4 separate regions of the Homo sapiens genome follow, and all the other regions are linked to region 1. The links are contacts of gene promoters, found by promoter capture Hi-C in human tissues and cell types (Jung and others, 2019). All regions are on one chromosome and are shown on one strand. The core of a region is centred on a gene start or on the middle of the fragment in contact, and the rest is flanking DNA. Distances in the headings are between cores, read along the strand shown. Region 1 holds the start of ENDOG (endonuclease G). Region 2 overlaps SPTAN1 (spectrin alpha, non-erythrocytic 1). Region 3 overlaps DYNC2I2 (dynein 2 intermediate chain 2). Region 4 has its middle 1.8 kb from the start of SET.

Evidence for each region. Contacts are between HindIII fragments. The study calls those that stand out against the background at their distance.
Region 2: a fragment that was not itself captured here is called in contact with the fragment with the promoter of ENDOG in region 1 in 2 of the 25 tissues and cell types used here (IMR-90 fibroblasts and lymphoblastoid cells).
Region 3: a fragment that was not itself captured here is called in contact with the fragment with the promoter of ENDOG in region 1 in 1 of the 25 tissues and cell types used here (heart left ventricle).
Region 4: a contact is called between a fragment that was not itself captured here and the fragment with the promoter of ENDOG in region 1, in 1 of the 25 tissues and cell types used here (IMR-90 fibroblasts).

The regions. Positions count from the first base shown.
Region 1 is chr9:128,816,796-128,819,909 of GRCh38, reverse strand. ENDOG (endonuclease G) reads right to left here and starts at 1,410. Exons shown (of 3, transcript NM_004435.2): 1 at 725-1,410. The coding sequence starts at 1,225. It overlaps KYAT1-SPOUT1 (KYAT1-SPOUT1 readthrough), which reads left to right. Exons shown (of 25, transcript NR_182311.1): 25 at 1-259. It overlaps SPOUT1 (SPOUT domain containing methyltransferase 1), which reads left to right. Exons shown (of 12, transcript NM_016390.4): 12 at 1-259. RefSeq lists enhancers at 407-496, 447-1,012 and a silencer at 1,117-1,176. The HindIII fragment of the contact is 9,516 bases long and covers 1-3,114 here.
Region 2 is chr9:128,607,122-128,610,235 of GRCh38, reverse strand. SPTAN1 (spectrin alpha, non-erythrocytic 1) reads right to left here. Exons shown (of 57, transcript NM_001130438.3): 32 at 2,533-2,632; 33 at 2,187-2,384; 34 at 1,960-2,106; 35 at 1,259-1,362; 36 at 952-1,114; 37 at 571-585. Among named protein-coding and RNA genes, the nearest start is that of DYNC2I2, 48 kb to the left of the region's middle. The HindIII fragment of the contact is 5,536 bases long and covers 1-3,114 here.
Region 3 is chr9:128,641,020-128,643,947 of GRCh38, reverse strand. The region is part of intron 1 of DYNC2I2 (dynein 2 intermediate chain 2); the gene reads left to right. Among named protein-coding and RNA genes, the nearest start is that of DYNC2I2, 14 kb to the left of the region's middle. RefSeq lists an enhancer at 2,486-2,928. The HindIII fragment of the contact is 3,394 bases long and covers 1-2,928 here.
Region 4 is chr9:128,685,889-128,689,002 of GRCh38, reverse strand. It overlaps a transcript of SET not described here. Among named protein-coding and RNA genes, the nearest start is that of SET, 1.8 kb to the left of the region's middle. RefSeq lists a silencer at 1-321 and enhancers at 608-1,484, 2,835-2,934, 2,975-3,064. The HindIII fragment of the contact is 6,109 bases long and covers 1-3,114 here.

The DNA of each region.
Region 1 (3,114 bases), core at 161-2,660:
CTCCTGTCAGATCAGTGGCGGCTGGAGATTGTCATAGGAGCTGGAACCCTATGGTGAACTGCGCATGTGAGGAGGTTGCGCGCTTCTTTTGAAAACCTAATGCCTGATCTGTCGTTGTTGCCCATCACCTCCAGATAGGACTGTCTAGTTGCAGGAAAACAAGCTCAGGGCTCCCACGGATCCTACATTACTGTGAGTTGTATATTTCACTATATGTTACAATGTAATAATAATAGAAATAAAATGTACATAAATGTAACGCACTTGAATTATCCTGAAACCCGCCCTCACCCACCAAGCCGTGGAAAAACTGTCTTCCACGAAACCGCACCCTGGTGCCCAATAGGTTGGGCGCTGCGGTTCTACAACAGACAGCCTTCTTCTGCTGTGTGACACTGTGCCCGTCACTTTGCCTCTGTGAGCCTCAGCGCCTCATCACTACCGCAGGAGGAAGGTGAATAACGGTATTATCCCCATTTTTTTGACGAGGAAAGCGACGCTCAGGGAGGTGCCCAGGGTTCGCAGTTGAAGCTCAAGCCCTGGTCGGCCTGCAGACCCTGTGCCTGGAGCCCAGTGCTCCTCCCTCCCGCCACGGGATGTCACTGCGATGCCTGACCGGGGGCGCGTTGGGCAGCTGCCCCGTTCTGCAGAAGAACAAACCGAGGCCCCGCGAGGCCAGGCGCCGGCCCCGCATTCCGCGACCGGCCCGGGGCGCGGGCGCTACCTGGGGCGCGACGTTGCTCAGGTAGAACGTGTCGTCCATGGCCTTCTGGCTCCAGCGGTGGTTGGCGGCGGCGGCCAGGTGACCGCGGTCGAAGCCACTGCCGCGGTAGTCGGCGTTGGTGGCACGGTGGTACGCGTGCACCGAGTCGTCCTCGCGGAAGTCGCACTCGCGCCGGTCGCCGTCGCCGCGGAGACGCTCGGGTCGCAGCTGCTCCACCACCCAGAGCGCGCCGCGGGTGCGCGGGTCGTAGCACAGCACGTACGACTCGCGGCTCTTGAGCTGCGCCAGCCCCGGCAGCCCGTACTTGGCCAGCTCGCCCGGGCCGCGGGGTCCCCCGGGCACAGGGGGCAACTCGGCTGCCGCCGCCACGGGCAGCACGGGCAGCCGGCCCAGCAGTCCCGGCGCCGCCCGCGCGTCCTCCCGCCGCCGCCGCCAGCCCTCGACGACCGCACCCAGCCCCGCGCCCGACGCCAGGGTCAGGCCGGCCCGCAGCGCCCGCATGGCCGGGGAGCGACCTAGCGGCGGGCGACCCGCGAGGCTCTTAAAGGAGCCGCGTCGCGGGATCCAACGAGGGCACAGGGCTGCTGGGGCCGCGGACGATAGCGTGACCTCCCTTCCACTCACAAACACTGCCAAGGGCTTGGGCCTCGGAACCCAGAAGGGAGCAGCAGAGCCCAACCGGGTGTCCCCGGCGTCCTTTCTTTGCGCATTTAAGACGCCGGTATGAGGGGCGTGGCATCGTCGCCTCAGCTCGCGATTGGCCACCATCAGGCCTGGCTCCGCACCCGCCTCGCAGGCCCCCTGCTGGTCGTGGGGTGGGAGACACTCTCTCCTCTGCGCCTGCGCAGGGAGCTCCTGCTTAATACGCTCCGCGGAAGGGTCAAGCACTGTCGAAAGCTTTTACTGTCACTGCTTAGTCTCACCCTCTACACCGCTCGGAGAGTGAGCTCCTAGTTCGCAGAGCAGGCACAGGGCCCCAGGTATATCTGGCCCTAGGCTATCCTCCATGACACCATAAAATAAGCCCCGCAATTCTACCAGATTGGCAAAGGTTTCTTTTTTTTTTTTTTTTTTTTTGAGACGGAGTTTCGCTCTGGTCGCCCAGACTCGAGTGCAATGGCGTGATCTCGGCTCACTGCAACCTCCGCCTCACAGGTTCAAGCGATTCTCCTGCTTCAGCCTCCCAAGTAGCTGGGATTACAGGCATGCGCCACCACGCCCGGCTAATTTTGTATCTTTAGTAGAGACAGGGTTTCTCCATGTTGGTCAGGCTGGTCTCAAACTCCCGACCTCAGGCGATCCGCCGGCCTCGGCCTCCCAAAGTGTTGGCATTACAGGCGTGAGCCACCGCGCCCGGCCCAGATTGGCAAAGATTTTAATTAACAGCAGTTTGAGGACAAGGATGCAGACGGCTGATGCTGGCTGCTGGCTGGAACAGAAACCTGGGGCGAATATTCCAAAAAACAGCTTGACAGTACAGTACAAGCGAAGCCTTAAAAAGGTTCATACCGTTCAACCCACGCAGAGGGCTGAGCTGGGGAAATCTCGGGAATGCAAGGATCTCGAACGCAAATATTCACCAGAGTATTACACTGCCGGCAGGAATAAGCAAAATATTCAGAAATATGGACTGGTTAAGGACTTTTATTTTTTGAGACGGAGTCTCACTCTATTGCCCAGGCTGGAGTGCAATGGCGTGATCTCCGCGCAGTGGAACCTCTGCCTCCCAGGTTCAAGTGATTCTCCTGCCTCAGCCTCTGAAGTAGCTGGGATTACAGGCGCGCACCACCAGGCCCAGCTAATTTTTTTTTTTTTTTGAGACGGAGTCTCGCTCTGTCGCCCAGGCTCACTGCAACCTCCGCCTCCTTGGTTCAAGCGATTCTCGTGCCTCGGCCTCCTGAGTAGCTGGGACTACAGGCGCGCGCCACCACGCCCAGCTAATTTTTGTACTTTTAGTAAAGAATGGGTTTCACCATGTTGGCCAGGCTGGTCTCGAACTAACTCCTGACCTTGTGATCCACCCACCTTGGCCTCCCAAAGTGCTGGGGTTATAGACATGGGCCACCCAACCCAGCCACTCTTAGCATTTTTTTTTCCTTTAAGGAAAATAAGGTCTTGTGCTGTCACCCACACGGAGTGCAGTGGCAAGATCACAGTTCACTGCAGCCTTGACCTCCTGGGCTCAAGCCATCCTCCTGCCTCACCCTCCCGAGTAGCTAGGACCACAGACACATATCATGATGCCTGGCTAACTTTTAAATTTTTTATAGAGATGGGGCCTCGCTATGTTGTCCAGGCTGGTCTTGAACTCCTGGCCTCCAGTGATCCTCCTGCCTTGGCCTCCCAAAGTTACAGGCATGAGCCACTAAGCCCTCCTGAGGTCAGTAGTT
Region 2 (3,114 bases), core at 320-2,819, 210 kb after region 1:
CTACCTGTTGAGTGATGTCTGCTTTTATCTTAACTTCTCATTTGTGTTCCTTGAAGATTTGGAGGTATTAATAGACCATCCGTCTCTCTACAGTTCTCTAGCTGTTCCTCTCCTGACTGGCACCTCTGGATGCCAGAGTGGGTATGCATTAAAACCCTCACACCAGACTGGCCTCCCCAACCCAGGCCACCGAACACCATGAGCTCATAGCAAGTCTGAGCCAATGTCTACACAGAAAAAGCTGAAGCTGATGTTCCATCTTCAAAAGGAAGCACTCCTTGAAAGAAAATGGTCAATTACTGCCCCGCAAATCAAACACTGTACAGAATTTGCCTAAGTGATAAACTGGGGGAGAGAAGGGGGAGTAAGGCGTTGCAGGCTAATTACAACAGAAAAAGCCACATCCCACAGGGACACTTGAATGGAGTGTAATGGATGATTAGAAATGAAAAGGATGGATGAAGAGACACCAGCAAACCGTGTGACCACAATAATAACAATAATCTACGCAGAGTAACACAAATACTGGAGCTCATTTAACTACAACTCTTAAAAAAATTAAAAACTTACCAGCAGCTTGGAAAGCTACAAAAACAGATTAAAAGAACAAGAGTTCAGTACACTGATGTGGACACACATATCAGCTATTAAATAGAAACTCATTTTGTCATACTTCCCCCAGGAAGCTCAGCATTTGGGAACAGTAATAGAAGGGGGATTCTATAGACTTTTATTACAGCAGAAATAGTTTTAATGGAGACAAATGAGGAAGGCAACTTTTAAATGGCTCTGAAACTTGACTAGGGCTTTCCCACTGGCTGGGCTTACTGAAATATTTCTCACTGACTTCCCATGGGTGCAAGGAGATTGTTTTATAAATGCTTTATTTAACAAAATCTACTCAATAACATAAGGCTACATCAAGACCAACACCCAGTCACTTCAGCTTACCTGGATGTTGGTGGGATCCTTGTACGACTCATCACTCGCTGTTTGCAATTTTTCACTGATCCAAGCCTCAATCTCATCCACATCCCGGCTGAACTGTTGGAGGGTTTGAGATTCTCCTAGCTTTGACCTTTTCTCAATCATCTGGGCTTTCAGACGTCGCCACCTGAAAGAGTGAAACCATGAGATCCAACATGAGCATATCTTACCGTGGAGAAGGAAGTGGGGAGACAGAACAGGCCTGGGCCTTCGTATGAGGGGATGCATCCTCTCAGGGCTGGTGACTATGTCAGTGCCACAGGACACCCACCTGTCCAAGACCTCATTGCGCCGGCTAGAAATGTCTCCCTTGGCATAATGGCCGGCAGCGATGAGCTGGTCGGCAAAGGCCTGCAGAGCAGCAATCTTCTCTTCCTGTCAGAAAACAAAGGCATGAGATCAAGGTGGGCCTGTGGCTGGGCCCTGCCTGGACTGCCAGTCTTGAGAAAAGGATAGTTATTTTGGGTGACTGAGAACTAGCTGGTGGCAGGATCAGAATACACTGACACTTTAGAAGCAAGAGTGTAAAATGCCAAAAGAAAGCTTGATTTCATTCATTACTAGAGTAGAGTTTAACTCAAGAAGTCTCCAGGTCACTCAGGTGGGGCAGGTGTTAGAATATCAGAACAGAACAAAATTAAGCCTGATAATAGGAAAATGCTGTCAGATTTACAGCAAAGTGACGTATAAATCAAACAGTTTTACATCTTCCTTGTTGTTTGTTCATTATTCCCTTACCTACCCACACATTTGTTTTCCATCCCTTTGATAATATTTTTTTTTCCTGTGGCACCCCCATTATTAAAATCTCAGAAATACCAGAATCTATAAAGTTTTAAAGATTATTTATGTACATATTTTTCTTAGACAACGCAGGTATTCCTTGGAGATATAACAGTGACTATATAAGCCAAGAAACAGATGTCAATCAGGAAAAATCCAGACTCCAACTCCATGGTCCAGAGGCCTCACCTGGACGTTAATCGCTTTGTCAAAGTCTTCATGTTTTTTGATCAGAGCCTCTACGCTGTCCAGTGAGTCTCCTTTGTCTTCGGTATTCAAGAAGGCCTCCCGGGCAGCCATCCAGTTCTCAGCTTGCTCACAGTCCCGATGGAACAGCTAAAGAGGGCAAGAGGCAGGTGAGAAAATGAGGCCCTTCAGCAAGGAAACACTTGGTCAGAAACCAGGAGCACACACACCTGCAGTTCAAGGCACTGATCCAGCATCATCCTGCGCTGAACCCAGGCCTTCTCCAGGTCTGCACGCTCCTGGTCAAGAATATCAAGTTTCTGCTTGATCTCAGGGCTGGCATAGTGTCCGTGAGCCAACAGCTGCTGTCCAAACTGCTCAAATGCCTGGAAAGTGCCAGCCCTGGCATCGATTTCTGTCCGGTGTTCCTGCCAAAAGGAGGGAAGGGATTAGGTAACTGGCAGCAGATGCCCACTCTGACGTCAACCACCGACTCACCACAAAGGGTGGGAATGAGGCCTCTAGGGCCCTGCAGAGCAGCCACGTCTTTGCTACTCAGCAGGCAGGTCCACCCACCTGGTGTCGCTCCAGCAATGCCTCAGCTCCGGTGACATCCTTGGCTAGCTCATCTGAGGACACCAACCCCCGTATTCCATTGATCCAAGACATGAGGTCCCTGGAAACCAGCACCCCAGAAAAATAGCTATTATATTACCTGGTAAGGAGATCTTCTGCCCAGGAAAACAGAGAATGACATAATTCTTGCCTCAGAAAGTTATCTTGGGTTAATCTGATCTACTGAATGAGGCTAGGTCTTTGGGCAAAGTGTTAAAAAACTTCTTGTTATTTTTTTAAAAGTCCGAATTTCTCAGAGGAAAAGTCAGTAGGCTTATAATTAAGATCTTTTCACCCTCCAGAATAACAAGTTCTAGCTACAATTAAGTCTTTGATAGCTTCAAATGAAAAAGCTTTTGTTGGCCAGGCGTGGTGGCTCATGCCTGTAATCCCAGCACTTTGGGAGGCTGAGGCAGGAGGATCGCTTGAGCTCAGGAATTCAAGATCAGTTTGGGCAATGTGGTGCAACCCTGTCTCTAAAAAAAAAAGAAAAAAAAGAAAAAGCCTTTCTTTAGGATTAACCCTTGAAGCCCTAGGCCTGGG
Region 3 (2,928 bases), core at 1-2,500, 180 kb after region 1:
AGCTCTGGGGCTTCAAGTCACATGTCTGGTCAGAAACTCTCCAGAGCTTTGTGACCTCCCCCGGGAATACTTGGTGCCTCCCCGTGGGTGGCTGAGGCATCTGAGTCCAAAGCAGGCCCCACAGAACTGCCCTGTGTTCTCTGCCTGAGTGTGACCTCACATCTGGGGACGCCCCGTCCACAGGTTCTCAGTGCAGATCCCAGGGTCACCCTGGATTTCCTTCTTTCCACGATTCCCAGAGTCCAACACGTCGTCTTGGGCTTTACTTGCTCTGTTGCCCAGGCTGGAGTGCAGTGGCACAATCAACTGCTCACTGCAGCCTCCACTTCCTGGACTCAAGCAATCTTCACACTTTAGCCTTCTGAGTAGCTGGGGACTACAGGATGCGCCGTCATGCCTGGCAATTTTTTTTTTTTTTTTTGAGATGGAGTCTCACTCTGTCACCCAGGCTGGAGTGCAGTGGCACGATCTCGGCTCACTGCAACCTCCGCCCCCCAAGTTCAAGCGATTCTCCTGCCTCAGCCTCCTGAGCAATTGGGATTACAGGCGCCTGCCACTGCACCTGGCTAATTTTTTTGTATTTTTAGTAGAGACGGGGTTTCACCATCTTGGCCAGGCTGGTCTTGAAGTCCTGACCTCATGATCAACCCGCCTCAGCCTCCCAGAGTGCTGGGATTACAGGCATGAGCCACTGCGCCTGGCTTCTGGCAAATTTTTAATTGTTTTGTAGGTACAGAGTTTCCCTCTGTTGCCCAGGCTGGTCTCAAACTCCTAGACTCAAGTGATCCTCTTGCTTCAGCCTCCCAAAGTGCTGGAATCACAGGCGTGAGCCACGGCGCTCAGGGGATTTTCCTCCACGACATTTTATTCTGGCCCACTACACTCCTTCCTGAAGCTTTCCACTTGGCCGGCTCCTTCATGTCCTTCACATCTCAGCTCAAACGCCATCTCCCTAAGAGGCCACCCTCGCCATCCCATCCAGACAGCCTCCCTTGCTGTTTCCTTCCTTTCTCGTGCCTCTGCATGTGCTCAGTGCTGTGTGGATTTGGTGTTTTTTTCTTGTTTATTCATCTCTCCCCACCCCTATGTAAGCGCCTGGGGCACAAGAATCTTGCACATTTTCTTTTCTGCTGTGTCCTCATTACCCAGACAATGCCTGGCAAGTAGATGCTCAATAAGTAATTTTTTTTTTTGAAATGGAGTCTCGCTCTGTCACCCGGGCTGGAGTGCAGTGGCACAATCTCGGCTCACTGTAAGCTCTGCCTCCCAGGTTCACGCCTTCCCGAGTAGCTGGGACTACAGGCACCCAGGACCATGCCCGGCTAATTTTTTTGTATTTTTAGTAGAGACGGGGTTTCACCGTATTAGCCAGGATGGTCTCGATCTCCTGACCTTGTGATCCGCCCGCCTCGGCCTCCCAAAGTGCTGGGATTACAGGCGTGAGCCACTGCGCCCGGCCTCAATAAGTAATTTTTTTTTTTTTTTTTTTTTTTTGAGAAAGTCTCCTACCATAGGCCAGGCTGGAGTGCAGTGGCATGATCTCGGCTCAGTGCAACCTCCGCCTCCCGGGTTCAAGCAGTTCTCCTGCCTCAGCCTTCTGAGTAGCTAGGATTACAGGCACGCGCCACCACACCCGGCTAATTTTTTTTTTTTTTTTTTTTGAGACGGAGTCTTGCTCTGTCGCTCAGGCTGGAGTGTAGTGGCACGATCTTGGCTCACTGCAAGCTCCGCCTCCTGGGTTCACGCCATTCTCCTGCCTCAGCCTCCCGAGTAGCTGGGACTACAGATGCTCGCCACTATGCCCAGCTAATTTTTTGTATTTTTAGTACAGATTGGGTTTCACCGTGTTAGCCAGGATGGTCTTGATCTCCTGATCTTGTGATCCGCCCGCCTCGGCCTCCCAAAATTCTGGGATTACAGGCGTGAGCCACCGTGCCCGGCATTTGTGTGTGTGTGTGTGTGTGTGTGTGTATGTATATAAATGAACATCTGCTTTGTGCCAAATACCATGCAAAGTGCTGGGGATACAAAGATCAGACAAGAGTCTTATGCTGGGGGGCTGGCGGTTCAGTAGGACACAGACAAGCAGAGAGAACTGAGTGGCCTGTGGAGGTGAGGGTGGGTACCAGTGCTGAGGCCTGTGTGTTCAGAAGAGAACTGTCCTGGTGAGTCCTGCCCTCTTCCTCCGGGCTTGCCTCCTGGCCCAGCTCGAATCCCGCATGAGATGGGAAGGAGGGAGTGTGGCAGTCCAGGGCCTTGTCATTGTCCCTTGAGCAGCCACCCGAGGAGAGCCCCTCACAGATAGCAGCAATCACCATGATTGCTTCCGCCCAGAGAGCCTTGGTTTGGTGAAGATTGGGCATGTCTGTAAGAAAGGGAGGCTGGCCTCTCCTGCCCTGTTCTGATGTTTGTACCTGTGCCAGGTACAGCTAAGCAGGGGACCAGGAATAGTAGGCGTGGTGGCAGGGTGGAGAGCAAGGCCTCTGGGGGCAGTGCTCTGCCTCCCACCTAGCAGCTCATAGTGGATGCTGAAGCTGCTGTTGCTTACCCGGGTGCTGGGAGGGCTGCCCGTTGAGGGAGGGCCTGGTGGTGTGAAGCTGGGGTGTTCATGGGCATCAGACCATGTGTCTGCCAGGGTGCTGCTGTGAGCCGATGTGGTTCTGCCTGCCCTCCGCATCTTCAGAAAGGGAGCCCTCTGACTCCTCCGAATTGTTGCACCAAAAGTCTTGGGGCAGGGTCTCACTGGCCTGTGTTGGTCACTTGGCCAGCCCTGAATTGGTCACTGTGGCTGAGGTAGGGACACGGTGCTCTGATTGGCTGGCACTGATTGGTTGTGGGACATAGGAGAATCAAGGGGCCATCTCCAACCAAGACCTCACTGAGAGAGGCCCCTAGCCTGAGACCCACAGCAGCAAGGAGGGGGTCAAG
Region 4 (3,114 bases), core at 454-2,953, 130 kb after region 1:
CCCAGGACACTGGCGCGCGGCAGGCCGGTGGGCGGGGCGTCGCACGGAGGCGCGGGTGCCCCCGGCCGGCGCGTCACGTGGTGAGCGAGCGGCTTCCCTGCTCCGCGGGGCACCGGGAGCGGGGCGCCCACCACCCCGAAAGTGCAGGCCCGGCCTCGTATGGGGGCCCCGAATTCCGCCCGGCCTCTCGGCGCCTTCCACTTCGTGGAGAAAGCAGGGGGCACCCCATTCTGGATGCCAGATGGGGAACTGCCGATCGGACTCAAACTCGGGCTCGTGTGCGAAGCCCCAGGCTGTGTAATCCGCGCGCAGGGCCATTCCTGGGTTTTAGTCCAAGCCCTGCCCAGCAAGCTTGTACCCTTGAGCAAGTCACCCTTCCTCTCTGAACCCGTTTCTGTTATGAAATGATAAAGGTTACGACACTGAAGCCACATTAAACTCGAAGTCCTGTGAAGGCAGGGAGGTACCACATTAGTCCGCGGTGCCCAGCGCCCGCAAGAATCATACTGAGCGTTAAGTGCCAGTTTCAGCAGCGCATGGCACGGTTATCTCACCGAGGCCTCACAACAGCCCCAAGCGATAGGCGGTGTTCTGTTCATAGAGATGAAAGGGGCCAACAAGTTCTACTTGAGAGGCAAAGTTCTGAACCACTAAGGAGGGCCAAAGCATTTTGTTTAAATAATACTTTTCAAGTAATGCGGATGCCCCACATTCTGTCCCTCCAGCACCCCAAGACATGAACCATAAAAAGCCAGAAAAACCCTGATTAGTAGCATTTGTTTGTTTGTTTTGAGACGGGAGTCTTGCTCTGTCCCCCAGGCTGGAGTGCAGTGGCGCAATCTTGGCTCACTGCAAGCTCTGCCTCTCGGGTTCAAGCAATTCTCCTGCCTCGGCCTCCCGAGTAGCTGGGGCTACAGGCACGTGCCACCATGCCCGGCTAATTTTTGTATTTTTAGTAGAGATGGAGTTTCACCACCTTGGCCAGGCTGGTCTACTGACCTGGGGTGATCCACTCACCTCGTCCTCCCAAAGTGCTGGGATTACAGGCGGGAGCCACTGCGCCCGGCCAGTACCATTTGTTGATTTTAGTGATACGCTGGCCAATTTCAAATCCTGGCCATGCAATAGCTCACTCCTGTTATCCCAACACTTTGGGAGGCCAAGGCAGGAGGATCGCTTGGGCCCAGGAATTCCAGGCTTCAATGAGCCCCAATGCAGCCACTGCACTGAAGCCTGAGTGACAGAGCAAGACCCTATCTCTAAAACAAAAACAAAAAAATACCTGAAATCTCTCTTTGGACATTTTTAACCAGAACTTGGGGTTGGAATTCTGCCTTCCAGAACTCACACTTTACCATTGGCTCTTTTTTTTTTTTTTTTTTTTTGGTGGGGGAGGGGACCAAGTCTCATTCTGTCTTCCAGGCTGGAGTGCAGTGGTGCCATCTCAGCTCACTGCAACCTCCGCCTCCCGGGTTCAAGTGATTCTCCTGCCTCAGCATCCTGAGTTGCTAGGATTACAGATGTGAGTCACCACGCCCTGCTAATTTTTGTATTTTTTGGTAGAGACAGGTTTTCACCATGTTGGCCAGACTGGTCTCAAACTCCTGACCTCAGGTGATCCACCTGCCTCTGCCTCCCAAAGTGCTGAGATTACAGGCATGAGCCACTGAGCTCGGCCCACTATCAGCTCTTAAAGCTCAAGCAGCATCTTTCATGTTCAAGACAGTGCACGGTGAGTGTCTTAGCCTCCCGAGTATCTGGGATTACAGGCGCCCACTACCATGCCAAGCTAATTTTTGTATTTTTTAGTAGAGACGGGGTTTCACCATGTTGGCCAGGCTGGTCTCGAACTCCCGACCTCAGGTGATCTGCCCACCTCGGCCTCCCAAAGTGCTGGGACTACAGGCATGAGCCACCCACTGTGCCTAGCATAAACTAAACTTTGTTGCAAGTGACAGAACCAAGATTCTAAACCAAGTAGCAATTGACAAAGCCCTTACCTTAAAACAGTTTTTCTATTTTTATTGTTGTTATTATTATGAGACAGGGTCTCTCTCTGTCGCCCAGAACCATGGCTCACTGCAGCCTTGACCTCCTGGGCTCTGGGGATTCTTACACCTCAGCCTTCTGAGTAGCTGGGACCACAGGCAAGCACCACTGCCACCTTGCCTGGCTAATTTTGTTTTTATCTTTTGTAGAGAGGAGGTATCACCATGTTGCCCAGGCTGGTCTCAAACTCCTGAGCTCAAACCATCCTTCAGCCTCAGCCTTCCAGAGCTCTGGGATTACAAGAGTTAGCCATCGCACCCTGCCTCAGTTTTTTTAATGTGACCAACAGTCAGAAGTACTTTTGACATCATGACCTAGCACACACAAACCAAAACTTACCCTTACCAAGGGTGATGTGATTCTAATTTCCTATTTAAAATGCAGGTCACACCCCACCAAATTGATTTCACGACCCGCTCCTGGGCTGAGTCTGTCTGAGAACACTATGCCAAGGGCTGGCTGCTTCCATCCTCAAAGCCTGACCCATAGGGTCACTCCTGACCCACAATGTCTCCTAAGTGCCTTATCTGCCTGTTTCCCAAGCACCTGCAGGGGTCCCAGGGAACCCTGTAATGCCTTCTGATGGGGGAGTGGGCTTTCAGGTTCCCTTTCTGGCCTCCCAACCCTCCCTGCCACCTCCCTGCCCCTCTTTTCCTGCCCTTCCCCACACAGTGCTTCTCAAGATAAATATGAGCACACTAGGAAGTTGAAGAGAAAGAGAAAGCAAAAGGGCCAGGGGTGTGAGTAAACACAGGCGAGCCGGGGGCACACTGAGAGGTTATTCACCCACTCTTAGGACTCTGCTCTCTCCCCGTCTCCAACACCAGAAGCTCTGCATTCTCTCTTCTTGGCCTCTCCCCTCACTCAGAATTCCTCCCTTGCCTCTCTCCTCTCCTCCTGGCCCCTCTGGTTGTTTTTTTTTTTGTTGTTGTTGTTGTTGTTCTTGTCGCCCAGGCTGGAGTGCAATGGCACGAACTCGGCTCATTGCAACCTCCGCCTCCGGAGTTCAAGCAATTCTCCTGCCTTAGCCCCCCAAGTAGCTGGGATTACAGGCATGCATCGTCA